Linked DNA regions of Homo sapiens: region 1 is linked to region 2. Evidence: promoter capture Hi-C in 16 types of primary human blood cells and fetal thymus (Javierre and others, 2016). All regions are on one chromosome and are shown on one strand. The core of a region is centred on a gene start or on the middle of the fragment in contact, and the rest is flanking DNA. Distances in the headings are between cores, read along the strand shown.

The links. The method cuts DNA at HindIII sites, captures the fragments that hold promoters and counts their contacts. A CHiCAGO score of 5 or more calls a contact.
Region 1: a contact is called between a fragment that was not itself captured here and the fragment with the promoter of OLIG1 in region 2, in 5 of 17 cell types (M1 macrophages, neutrophils, M2 macrophages and 2 more). The highest score is 6.0, in M1 macrophages.

What each region holds. Positions count from the first base shown.
Region 1 is chr21:32,987,216-32,994,008 of GRCh38, forward strand. No RefSeq gene overlaps it. Among named protein-coding and RNA genes, the nearest start is that of LINC01690, 32 kb to the left of the region's middle. The HindIII fragment of the contact is 8,548 bases long and covers 1-6,793 here.
Region 2 is chr21:33,067,464-33,074,166 of GRCh38, forward strand. It overlaps OLIG1 (oligodendrocyte transcription factor 1), which reads left to right and starts at 2,678. Exons shown (of 1, transcript NM_138983.3): 1 at 2,678-4,950. The coding sequence starts at 2,784. The coding sequence ends at 3,599. The HindIII fragment of the contact is 4,947 bases long and covers 1-4,461 here.

The DNA of each region.
Region 1 (6,793 bases), core at 2,751-5,250, 79 kb before region 2:
ATGGTTTTGGGGATACAGCCAGTGTCGGCAAAGTATAGGCACTGGAAAGCCTTCTCAGGGCAACATGCAAGAGAGAAGGTGGGAATGTAAAGAAAGGGGCCTGGCAGAGAGGTCAGGGTCAGTAAAGCACACACCAGAGGATCCTGGGTGTATTAGTTCATTATCGTTCTGCTATAAAGGACTGCTTGAGACTGGAAAATTTATAAAGGAAAGAGGTTTAATTGACTCACAGTTCTGCATGGCTGGGAGACCTCAGGAAACTTACAATTATGGCGGAAGGGGAAGCAAACGTGTCCTTCACATGATGGCAGGAAGGAGAAGTGCTGAGCAAAAGGGGGAAAAGCCCCTTATAAAACCATCAGATCTCATCAGAACTCACTATTATGAGAACAGGATGAGGGTAACCACCCAGTGATTCAATTAATTCCCACCGGGTCTGTCTCATAACACGTGGGGATTAAGGGAAGTACAATTCAAGATGATATTTGGGTGGGGACACAGCTAAACCATATCACTGGGTTTCTAAACGAGCCGCCAAATGTAATTCTCAGAGTCTTCACTTCAAAGACAAGGTCATTAAGACATGTGCTTTTGGCACCTCGTTCCTGCCTCTGGTGCATGACACACAATTGGTTTTTTGCTCTTTTTACTCATTTCTCCTCATCGAATCCTCCCTATCTTAGCTCAGGCTGCTATAACAAAGTATCATGACTGATGACTTATAAACAAGAGATATTTATTTCTCACAGTTCTGGAGGCTGGTAGCCTGACATCAGGGTGCCAGCATGATCGAGTTATGGGGAGGACCCTCTTCCGAGTTGCAGACTTAACTTCTTGCTGTATCCTCACATAGTGGAAAGTGAGTGAGAGAGCTCCTGGGGTCCCTTTTAAAAGGGCACTAATCCCATTCACGAGGGCTCCACCCTCACGACCTCATCACCTCCTAAAGGCCCCACCTCCTAATATCATCCCACTGGGCATTAGATTTCAACATATGGATTTTCGGGGTACATAAGCATTCAGTCTATATCACTCCTCCCATTTTTAATAATAATATTGGAGATATTGATTCACTGTCTCTTGACATCCATTCCTGCAAATGTGACATCTGTTCTCAGTTTAAGTTTTATTTATATTTGTCTTCTTTCTAAAATCTCATAAGACTGTTCTATCTTTGCATTTCATTACATCATGACTAAGTGAAGGTTCGTTTGTCGTGGTGCAGCATTGATTGTATACACAGTAGCAGGGAACTTACTTTAATTCTGTGTCTTTCTTTAATTCTAAAAGTTCTCACCTGAGTTTTCCACGTATCTCCATCTGAAACACTTATGAGGTGTGTGTTGGAGCCTCTCAACCAGTTTTCTAAGTCGCTTAACTGTTCTTGCATATTTTTTATTCTCTTTATCTTTCTGAGATGCATTCTGGGTGAATTCTTGAGCATCGTTAACTAATTCCCTTCTCAGCTGCATCAAGTATGGAGCTTGATTTTATGTCTTCAGTCTTGTATTTCAATAACCATATTTTTCATTCCAAGGATTTTTTATTTTGTTCATGTTCACCTGTACTTCTTCCATTTCTGCCACTGTTTGTTTCCTAATTTCTCATCCTTCATTTCTGGGAGGACCTAAACCACATTTATTAGAAAGTCATTTTCCTATTTTGCTGTTGTTTTCATTTCTCTGGGAATTCATTCTCCAGGTGATTGATTTTTTTCAAACTTGCTGTTCTTTCTTAACATTTGCTTCCTTCATTCCTTTTGAAATCTTAGTTTGCAGAGTCATCTTAAAGGGGAGTCCCCTTTCCTTGCTTTCTGTGATACCCCCTGCTGCCATCACACACACCTCCTCATGTTCCCCAGACCAGAACCGGAGGTTACATGGCAGCTGGGGCTATGAGGATATGGAGGTTCCTGCTGGTAGCTTGGCTTAGGGCACAGCTATGAGGCCCCTCTGCCTCCTCCCACCTCCCCGGGTGCACAGTTACCTAGCGGCTATAGTCCCAGATGGTGTTGGTAGCATTCTTCAGTCTCCAGCATTCTAAAGTCTCAGTCTTTAGTTTCAAGCCTGTCCTTGGTCACCTGCCACACCTGGGACACCTATAGTCCTTCTTATCCCACAGGAGCTGAGGTTGTAACTGCCTTTCCTGTATCCAGACCCAGAGGCCAGCACACCTGTGGATTCAGCCCCACCTCCATGTTGAGTTTCTCTTGTTTCTTGCCCAAGGACATGCTACTTACCCAATTTTGATATCAACTATGCATTTTAAGTACCATTCCTTAAGTTTTTTTCCTGTCCTATCACTTCTATATATCAGAATGAAATGGAGTTGAAGGGCCCTCAGTGCATGAAATTACAATGCTATAATCCTGGGACTTGCCATTCACTTTCACCTTGAATTTCTTTATCTCTAACTTTAATTGTCTTGTACTTGCTGTATTGTTTCAAACCATCTTAAATCCTTCCAATAACTAGGAATGGGATACATACTGTGTTAGTCCCCTATGGCTGCAATAATGAAGTACCAGAAACTAGGTGGCTTAGAACAACAGAAATCTTATCCCACAGTTCTGGAGGCCAGAGTCTGAGATTGAGGTGTCAGCAGGGCCACACTTCCTCTGAAACTGGCAGGGGAAAATGTTTCCAGGTGGACTGGTTAATCATCTCTGCTTAAGGAAAAGGAGACAGAAGCCCCCAGGGGTGTGATCTTCCTAAGGTGACATAGCAGGTCATTTGCAAAATGGGGATGGGGTAACATTAAGTGAAAAGAGTAAAATTATCAAGTGAAAAAAAGTATACTGACTGGGCACTGTGGTTTACGCCTGTAATCCCAGCACTTTGGGAAGCCGAGGCAGATGGCTCACTTGAGCCCAGGCATTCGAGACCAGCCTGGGCAACATGGCAAGACCCTGTCTCTACAAAAAATACAAAAATTCACCGGGCATGGTGATGTGCACCTGTAGTCCCAGCTACTCGGGAGACTGAGGTGGGAGGACCACTTGAGCCCAGGAGGTCAAGGCTGCAGTGAGCCAAGGTTGTGCCACTGCACTCCAGCCTGGGTAACAGAGCAAGACCCTGTCTCAAAGAAAAAAAAAAAAGTCTATCACTTGTGCAAAGGGGGCCCATTTTGCTTAAACAATGGGGAGAAGTTAGCTCAATATTATAGAAACATATTTAATTACTTAAGGCAACCCATCTATGTATCTATATCTATAAACATACAGGTAGAAGTTTCATGCATATGATATCGTATGATATATGTCTATATCCAGCTACCTATCTGTATATATATTTAGCTAGACAGTATGACAAATGTCAAACCTAAGATGAATCCACAGCTATTCAAAACAGCAGCCTTGTTTAAAATATGGGAGAAATAAAACCACCCACAAAGTTTAATTAGTGAATTTCCTTACCAGTCCGGCTTCTCTAGCAAGCAGTAAGTTCAAAATCCCTAACTATTTCCCTGCAATCCTTCATTGCTCACCCAGTGGGGCAGAAGGCAGATCTTGTCCAAGACAGCCATGAACACATTACACGATTCACCGGGAGACTCCTCCAGCACCTTGACCTGCAAATTTCCAAAGGAGCTGCTCCGCTGTCAGCTCTCACCTAGAGGATGCCCCAGGGGGCAGGGCACAGCACCACATCTTTGCTCTCTGGGGTTCACTTGTCCAGGGCTTGGAGCCTGCAGGGAAAGAGGCTGCGTATCCGGCAAACCCATCTCTCCCAAACTAGCATTTCAATCCCCCAGCCCTGCATGTCTGCCTCATGACAAAGCTATTCTATGAGCTTATATCTCTCAGGGCACGACTTGGATTTTCAGTTTTAGAGCCCTGAGTGATGGGTTGTCTCAGTTGGTCCTCAAATCTCTTTCCTTTGTGTGTTTTTTGTTGTTGTGGTGGTTGTTATTTTTTGTTTGTTTATTTTTGTTTTTGTAGCTCTAGGAAACCTCTATGATTCTACTCTGTCAAAAAGAATCTACAAAGCCCCCTCTCTTCCGTTGGGTAAAATCCAAGGACCCATTGGTACCTGATCCATTTTGAGAAACACAAGCCCTGGGGAGATATTTGCCCAGCTGTGGGGAGCCACTCTTTGGAGCAGTTCACTGTTTGTAGGATGGTGAGGAGAGAGGAAGGGGACAGGGTGAAGTCTTAACTCATGCTCACATCCAGACAGACTTTTTTAATCGCAAGTAGCATCCATTCAGTTTCTCTAATCAGCTTCAAAGACCTCGTAAGGCTCCCATTACCATTGTGTGGCTGGTAATTCTGTGTCACAACTAATTACTGCCTAATAGCTGTCACAGATGCAGAGTCTCCAGTTTAAAAGCCAAGTCGATTTCTTCCTGCATTCAGACCTCGTCTGCCCCTGAGTGGTGCAGATTACATGAGGTAATACGGCAGTTATTTCTACCTGCTGCAGTTCATCAGCTCCATCTCCAGCTGAGGTAGCCGCCCGTCCCCCTTGGACAAAGATTATTTGTCATTAAAATGCTCAGGCTCGCTCACACTCTCTTTTTTCAATCTGGATGTTGCCTACACTTTGAGAAAGGTTTTTGAAGAAAGATTAGCAGGATTAGGAAAGGTTCACATATGTTCAGCCTCACTCTTGGTATTCAAGACATCACAACCCTGCACCACCCAGGAAGCACAAGAAAATGGAGCACAGGCAGAGGCCCGGGAGGGGCTGGGGGGTGAGGGGGAAGCTGTGTGGCTCCCCCACCAATAATACAAAGCTGGAGTCAAATGCAAATCTGGGGGTGTTTTACGCTGGGGAATTCCCAGGCAGTTTCCTAGAATTTTTTAAATTAATTTTTCTATTTCCATAGGTTATTGGGGAACAGGTGGTGTTTGGTTACATGAGTAAGTTCTTTAGCGGTGATTTGTGAGATTTTGGTGCACCTGTCACCCGAGCAGTGTACACTGTACCCAATTTGTGATATTTTATCCCTCACCCCCTTCCCACCCTTTCCCCTTGAGTCCCCAAAGTCCATTGTGTCATTCTTATGCCTTTGCATCCTCACAGCTTAGTTCCCACTTATGAGTGAGAACATATGATGTTTGGTTTTTCCATTCCTGAGTTATTTTACTTAGAATAAGAGTCTCCAATCGCATCCAGGTCGCTGCGAAGGCCATTAATTCATTTCTTTTTATGCCTAACTAGTTTTCCATCATATATGTCACAGTTTCTTTATCCAGTCATTGATTGGTGGGCATTTGGGTTGGTTCCATGATTTTGCAATTGTGAATTGTGCAGCCATAAACATGCGTGTGCAAGTATCTTTTTTTGTATAATGACTTCTTTTTCTCTGGGTAGATATCCAGTAGTGGGCTTACTGGGTCAAATGGTAGATCTACTTTTAGTTCTTTAAGAAAACTCCACACTGTTTTCCATAGTGGTTGTACTAGTTTACATTCCCACCAGCAGTGTAGAAGTGTTCCCTTTTCACCGCATCCACGCCAACATCTATTATTTTTTGTTTTTTTGATTATGGCCATTCTTGCAGGAGTAAGGTAGTGTTGCCTTGTGGTTTTGATTTGCATTTCCCTGATCCTTACTGATGTTGAGCATTTTTTCATATGTTTGTTGGCCATTTGTATATCTTCTAAGAATTGTCTATTCATGTCTTTAGCCCACTTTTTGATGGGATTATTTGTTTGTTTGTTTCTTGCTAACATGTTTGAGTTGGTTGTAGATTCTGGATATTAGTCCTTTGTCAGACGTATAGATTATGAAGATTTTCTCCCACTCTGTGGGTTGTCTGTTTACTCTGCTGACTGTTTTGCTGTGCAAAAGCTCTGTAGTTTAATTAAATCCCAGCTATTTATTTTTGTTTTATTGCATTTTCTTTGGGGTTCTTGGTCATGAAATCCTTGCCTAAGCCAATGTCTAGAAGAGTTTTTCCAATGTTATCTTCCAGAATTTTTAGTTTCAGGTCTTAGATCCATCTTGAGTTGATTTTTGTATAAGGTGAGAGAGGGAACTTTTGTTTTTAGCGCTGTTTTCTTTTCTCTTCCTGTGTGATTATTTGTCTCCTTTTGAGAGCCTGACCAGCAAAGGAGAAGGGAGGTGTCAGAGGCAGGACTCAACAACTTGGCCTTGAGGCAGGTTCTAAGAGCCATGCCCCACCCAACAGCTGACCCTTGGCAGTCCTTCTGTCTACTTTTTCTTGCCTTAGCTACCTTCTCAAGGGCACCAAATGAAGGAAGGGTCATGGCTCCCAGGTCCTGTGAGAAAAACCTGTTCCCAAGTTGGAATATTTCATTGAGTTAAACTTCTAACCAATCTGCACTGATCACTGGGTGTCTTAGTCCATTCGGGCTGCTCTAACAAAATATCTTAGACTAGGTAATTTATAAATAATAGAAATTTATGTCTCACAGTTCTGGAGGCTGGAAAGTTTAAGATCAAGGTGCCAGCAGATTTTGTGTCTGGTGAAGCCTCCATCTCTGCTCCACAGAGGGCACCTTTTCCTGTGTCCTCAGACAGTAGAAGGGCAAAAAGGAACTAACAGACTCCCTCAAACCCTTTTATAAGAACACTAATCCCATCCATGAAGGTGGAGCCCTCATGACATAAACCACCTCTTAAAGGCCCCATCGCCTAATACTATGGCAGTGGGGATTAGGTTTCAACATGAATTTAAGGAGGGAGGCAAACACTCAAACTGTAGCACTGAGTACCAAGAAGAATTAAAAAGGGGAAAAGAAATGGCTAGGTAGTCTTAGAATCTTCCCAAATCTCCCTGTAAAATAGAAAGAGCAACTAGAATAGCAAAGCGAAAAGAGCCA
Region 2 (6,703 bases), core at 1,428-3,927:
TCTTACAAGGAGGAGATAAGGTGAGACTTAGGTCTAAAGAAAACCCTCAGGGACACCCACAGGAAAGAGGGGTGCTTCTAGAGGGGAAAGGCAGCATGTGTGTGTTTCCATCTGTTTGACTCCTGGGTGCCCCTTCCTGTGGGTGGGAAATGGGGAGCGTACAAGTTAGGCAACAGGCCAAGGCTTTAGATTTTATCTTCCCCATTCACTTCCTCTTTCTGCTGGCAGGGTAAGACCCTACGGGCCCCACCTAGGCTGTGTGCAGGGGAGGAAGCCGGAGGGGGATGTCACCAGGGCCTGCCCCAATCTGGCACCTCAGCTACAGGACAGAGGGTCCTGACAGTGAGGGTGGGCATTGCCGAAGAGGCTGGAGCAGGGTTTATGGTGGCAGGATTCTGGGGACACTCTCTTGGGGAACATGGCTGGAACCCACCAACTCATCAATATTGGCACAGTCTAGGCTGGCCCCTCCATCCTTACACCCAATCCCCAACCCGCCCCATCATGGCCCCCTCCTGGGCTTCCTGGAAGCCTGGTTCTGCTGGAGGGAATTCAGGAAGCCAGTCCTTGGTGGGGCCGCTCTGCCTGTCCTGTCTGAAGGCACAGAGCAATCTACTGCCTTCTGGGAGCCTCAGTTATATCATGGACATCAAGGGATCAAAAATGCCCAGCTCACAGGGGCCCCATGAGAACCAAACGTGAAAGTGTCTGTAAAAATGACTTGAAAGCAAGCTGCTTCAACAGAAGGCGAAATGATTAGTGAGGTGTTAAACTTAATTGCTTGAAACATTCAAGACCCTTCCCTTGGTCTCTCTCTCTCCTTCCTGCTTAGTATGGTTCTGCTTAAGCACTCAGCTCCTTCCTACCAAGGCTTCCCTCTCTCTCCCAAAGTGGGGCCCCCAGCACCACGTCCATGTCAGGCCAGGCCCCTCTGAGAGGCAGGAGATCTTACCAGGTTCCTTCCCTCTCTATAAAACCTTTAGGAAAATGCTTGGGTTAGAGCATTGCCAGGAGTTTGTGCATTTAAGGGATGAGCCTCTGAGCTAAGGGAGATTTCAGACCATCTTTAGAGACCTCCAGGACACACAGTAAGTGCCAAGCACTGTGCTAGGCTTCAGGAAGATGGAGAAATGAGCAGGTGGTCCCTACCGTAAAACAATCATAGCCAAATGCAGAGATGGTATCTACATAACACAATAGGCTATGAAGAAATCCTATCAATGGTTTGCCAAGAGTCATGAAAGGAGGAAGAGGAGAAATCACCAAGGCTTCCAGAAGAAAGCAAGGTTGGAGCTGAACCTGAGGCATAGGCAGGATGCTACAGGCAGAGCTGGGGGTCAGAAGCAAAGATCAGAGTGAACCCATGTGGCAAATATTGGTGGAAGAAAACCAGAACAAAGCAGCCCTGAAACCAGCAAGCACAGCCACCAAGATGCCCTCTTCCCCAGGACATTGACAAGTTATAGTAGCATGCACTGGTGCTGGGGGCAGAAAATGTCCATAGACACCAAGTAATGCTATTCTATTTGGCAAATAAAATGATTCATTCCCACCCTCAACCGATAGGACTATGTGGGTGTTTTGTTTTGTTTCTAATAAGAGGCCAATTTCTGAGTGACTTTTGCTTAAGCAAATGTCAAGTTGCTGATAGACCATCCCTTTCGGGGAGGATAGAAACCCGACCCAAAGGCTCCTTTGTCCCTAAAGACCTTTCAATCAGAGGGATGGGGAAGGAGGTTGGGAGCAGCAGGGAGGAAATATCCTAATGCTACTTGTCATTTAGTCCAGAAATTTAGCGACCTGAACCTGGCAGGAAATTATGTATTTTAAGAAAAAAAAAACATGATACACTCATGTTCATAGCAGCATAATTCGCAACAACCAAAAGCACCCCAAATGTCCATCAACGAATGAATGGATAAACCAAATGTGGTATATCCATATACTGGAATATTATTCAGCCTTGAAAAGGAAGAAACTTTGATACATGCTACAACATGGATAAACCTTGACGACAATATGCTAAGTGAAAGAAGCCAGTCACTAAAAGACAAGTGCTGTATGATTCTACTTATATGAGGGACCTAGAGTAGAACAAATTCATAGAGACAGAACAGAAGAGTGAATTCCAGGAACTTGGGTCGGGGGGAGTGGGGAGTTGTTTAATGGGTGGAGCTTCAGGGTTGCAAGTTGAAAAGAGTTCTGGAGATGGGTTGCACAACAATGTGAATTTAATTTAAATCAATTTAATGTGCACACTAATGCATATAACATTACTGAACAGTACTCTAAACATAAGACGGTAAATTTTATGTTATGAATATGTGATCACAGTTAAAAAAAAATATGAGGGAGGTTGTTTTTGAGTAGACAGTTGCTGGAGGAAGGCACGTGAGTTGCAGCCTGACCAGTGCGACCAGTCCTCCTTCAACAGCCCCGCTTGCCTTGAAAAGGCGCCCTTACTCCGCTCAGGGGGCCTGTCCCGCGCGGCTGGCACAGGCGCTCACAATAACCTCCTAAAGCGGTGCCAGCCGCACCTCCGCGCGGCCCCGGCACAAGCAGCCAATGAACACGCGGCTGCGCCCGGCCTCGCGCCTCCATTGGCTGCGCCCCGCCACCCGCTGCCCCGCAGGTTCCCAAGCCGGGTTTAAAGGGGTAGGGCGCGGGCCAGGGCCCCACCATCGTTTCCCCGCGCGCAGGTCCGCGGGGAGGGGCGGCCTGCCGACCGGCCCACCCCAGGGCGTTCCTGAAGGGCGTCCTCGGCCGCCCCCACCGCCTCCCAGATGTACTATGCGGTTTCCCAGGCGCGCGTGAACGCGGTCCCCGGGACCATGCTGCGGCCACAGCGGCCCGGAGACTTGCAGCTCGGGGCCTCCCTCTACGAGCTGGTGGGCTACAGGCAGCCGCCCTCCTCCTCCTCCTCCTCCACCTCCTCCACCTCCTCCACTTCCTCCTCCTCCACGACGGCCCCCCTCCTCCCCAAGGCTGCGCGCGAGAAGCCGGAGGCGCCGGCCGAGCCTCCAGGCCCCGGGCCCGGGTCAGGCGCGCACCCGGGCGGCAGCGCCCGGCCGGACGCCAAGGAGGAGCAGCAGCAGCAGCTGCGGCGCAAGATCAACAGCCGCGAGCGGAAGCGCATGCAGGACCTGAACCTGGCCATGGACGCCCTGCGCGAGGTCATCCTGCCCTACTCAGCGGCGCACTGCCAGGGCGCGCCCGGCCGCAAGCTCTCCAAGATAGCCACGCTGCTGCTCGCCCGCAACTACATCCTACTGCTGGGCAGCTCGCTGCAGGAGCTGCGCCGCGCGCTGGGCGAGGGCGCCGGGCCCGCCGCGCCGCGCCTGCTGCTGGCCGGGCTGCCCCTGCTCGCCGCCGCGCCCGGCTCCGTGCTGCTGGCGCCCGGCGCCGTAGGACCCCCCGACGCGCTGCGCCCCGCCAAGTACCTGTCGCTGGCGCTGGACGAGCCGCCGTGCGGCCAGTTCGCTCTCCCCGGCGGCGGCGCAGGCGGCCCCGGCCTCTGCACCTGCGCCGTGTGCAAGTTCCCGCACCTGGTCCCGGCCAGCCTGGGCCTGGCCGCCGTGCAGGCGCAATTCTCCAAGTGAGGGCGGGCCTGGGCCTGGGGCGCGACCTCGGCCCGGCCTCCCTTCGCTCAGCTTCTCCGCGCCCCTGCTCCCTGCGTCTGGGAGAGCGAGGCCGAGCAAGGAAAGCATTTCGAACCTTCCAGTCCAGAGGAAGGGACTGTCGGGCACCCCCTTCCCCGCCCCCACCCCTGGGACGTTAAAGTGACCAGAGCGGATGTTCGATGGCGCCTCGGGGCAGTTTGGGGTTCTGGGTCGGTTCCAGCGGCTTTAGGCAGAAAGTGCTCGCTCTCACCCAGCACATCTCTCTCCTTGTCCCTGGAGTTGCGCGCTTCGCGGGGCCGATGTAGAACTTAGGGCGCCTTGCCGTGGTTGGCGCGCCCCGGGTGCAGCGAGAGGCCATCCCCGAGCGCTACCTCCCCGGAGCGGAGCACGCCGGCTCCCAGTACTAGGGGCTGCGCTCGAGCAGTGGCGGGGGCGGAGGGGTGGTTCTTTTCCTTCTCCTCCGCCAGAGGCCACGGGCGCCCTTGTTCCCGCCGGCCAGGTCCTATCAAAGGAGGCTGCCGGAACTCAAGAGGCAGAAAAAGACCAGTTAGGCGGTGCAGACGGTCTGGGACGTGGCAGACGGACGGACCCTCGGCGGACAGGTGGTCGGCGTCGGGGTGCGGTGGGTAGGGGCGAGGACAACGCAGGGTGCGCTGGGTTGGGACGTGGGTCCACTTTTGTAGACCAGCTGTTTGGAGAGCTGTATTTAAGACTCGCGTATCCAGTGTTTTGTCGCAGAGAGTTTTCGCTCTTAAATCCTGGGGGTTTCTTAGAAAGCAACTTAGAACTCGAGATTCACCTTTCGTTTCCCTTTCCCCAAAAGTAGCGTAACCAACATTTAAGCTTGCTTAAAAACGAAAACCAACCGCCTTGCATCCAGTGTTCCCGATTTACTAAAATAGGTAACCAGGCGTCTCACAGTCGCCGTCCTGTCAAGAGCGCTAATGAACGTTCTCATTAACACGCAGGAGTACCGGGAGCCCTGAACCGCCCGCTGCTCGGCGGATCCCAGCTGCGGTGGCGACGGCGGGAAGGCGCTTTCCGCTGTTCCTCAGCGGGCCGGGCCCTTGACCAGCGCGGCCCGCAGGTCTTCCTTCTCGCCGTCTTGCAGTTGAAGAGCTACATACGTAGTCAGTTTCGATTTGTTACAGACGTTAACAAATTCCTTTACCCAAGGTTATGCTATGACCTTTCCGCAGTTTACTTTGATTTTCTATGTTTAAGGTTTTGGTTGTTGGTAGTAGCCGAATTTAACTGGCACTTTATTTTACTTCTAACCTTGTTTCCTGACGGTGTACAGAATCAACAAAATAAAACATTTAAAGTCTGATTTTTTACATTTTTTGTCTGATTTGTTTGGTAATAAAAAAGTCCTTGTATCCTAGTGGATTTAGAACCTTGGGGTGAAGGTAGGTAAATGACCGGGGTCCCAGGTTTTAAAATGTGACTTCCTGATTTGTAAAATAATCCAATGAACAGGCAACTGTAGTTCAAGTTCAGGCATTCGTGGGAAATATGAGGATTATAGGTAAGTGGGTGGGTGGGATAGAGAATGGGATAGAGAAGGGAGAGAGGCAATTCCAGGAATTCATTCTTTGCCAAGCTTCAGGCATAGGTCTTTTTTAACTACAACTTCATCCCCTGGAAAATGGGTTAAGCAATACCTTTATCATAAAATTGTAGCTCAACATCCTTCCAGGATATCCACCTTTTCTATATCCTTGGACAGAAGCTTAATACCACACAAGCATGAGCTTCCCGCTGCTGCACCCACCTACCCCTTATCATTTAAATCAGGTTGGAATTGTCTTCACCTAAGAGGTGAAGAAAGCTCTTCTGTCTGTTTGGTGCTCTTAAAAAGAATTTGGAAGGCTGACCTGCTCACATTGCAATAATGAAACACTGCATAATTATTAATGAAACCCAACCACTGTTTAATGTAGGGGAGTAGTAGAGAAGTAGTGTCCCCTTTAACCTGAGGAAAATTAAAGAAAACCCAGAGATGACTTACTCAATTTTATCCATGTTGGTTTATCTGAGGCATATACACATTTAGAGAAAATGAGCACCACTTTGGAGGTGGGGGAAGGAGGTGGGAGGTGGCTGGAGAGATGGCATTGCCCGGCTACCATGCTGTGTCTATTTCCTTAAGGAGAAGTCAGGACAGGGCATGGGAGAAGGTGCTCTGTGCACCAACTCATTCCAAAAGAGGATTTCTCATGCTTCCTAGACTCTGCCACCAGCAAAGTCACCACTTTTATAAAAAGTAGATTTGAACTCTGGCCTTCTGTTTATTCAATGCCTTTCCTTGCTTACCTTATATCTTGGCAAGGGGTAGGGGAAAAAAGTGAAAATCAATGAAATCAAAAGCAAATTAGGTTCTCCTTGAAACAAAAATACTTCTAAGGGATTAGAAACAAACAATTTCTCCCACTGTCCAACACCAGCACCTAGATGCCACTGTCATTCCAGACATCATCTCTAAAAGGAGCCCAAAGCTACAGGGCAGAAAATGGGTCTGCCCTTCTCTACCTGTAAATGGGAACAAGCCGCCCATGCCTTATAGGAAAAGTAACACTATATGTGTATGATTTTTTTTTTATTTAACTAAGAAAATCACAGCCTATCATGCTTTTCAGAAGGGCCAAAGGCTATAAATAAATTTAACAAGGACACACGGGGCTGTTTTGGGTGCCATCAAAATACTTATCTGCCTGCACGTAGCGTGCTTTTGGCCGTTGTGCCAAGCAAGATTAGCAGACTTGCTCTATAGAAGGAGTTTACATCCTAAAAAATAGTACCAGCAAGCATTGAAGAGTCCTGTAGGATGAAACAGATAAAAGGTAATTATATACAGTGTCCACAATGCAAAGTCAGACTGCTCAACATCTGTCTATGGCAGGGCAGTGTATTCTGCATGCAGAGTTTAAGCTTAGACATGTGTGTTCTAGAGCATGGAGCTGCTTTTAGAAATGTTCAGTGCTATGTCACGCCAGCAAAGGAGCTAGCTGAATTGTCCACCATACTTGATTTTAGCTGGAGTGGGCTTTGTTCAGAAGGAACAAGTGTAAGCTAGCCTTTGA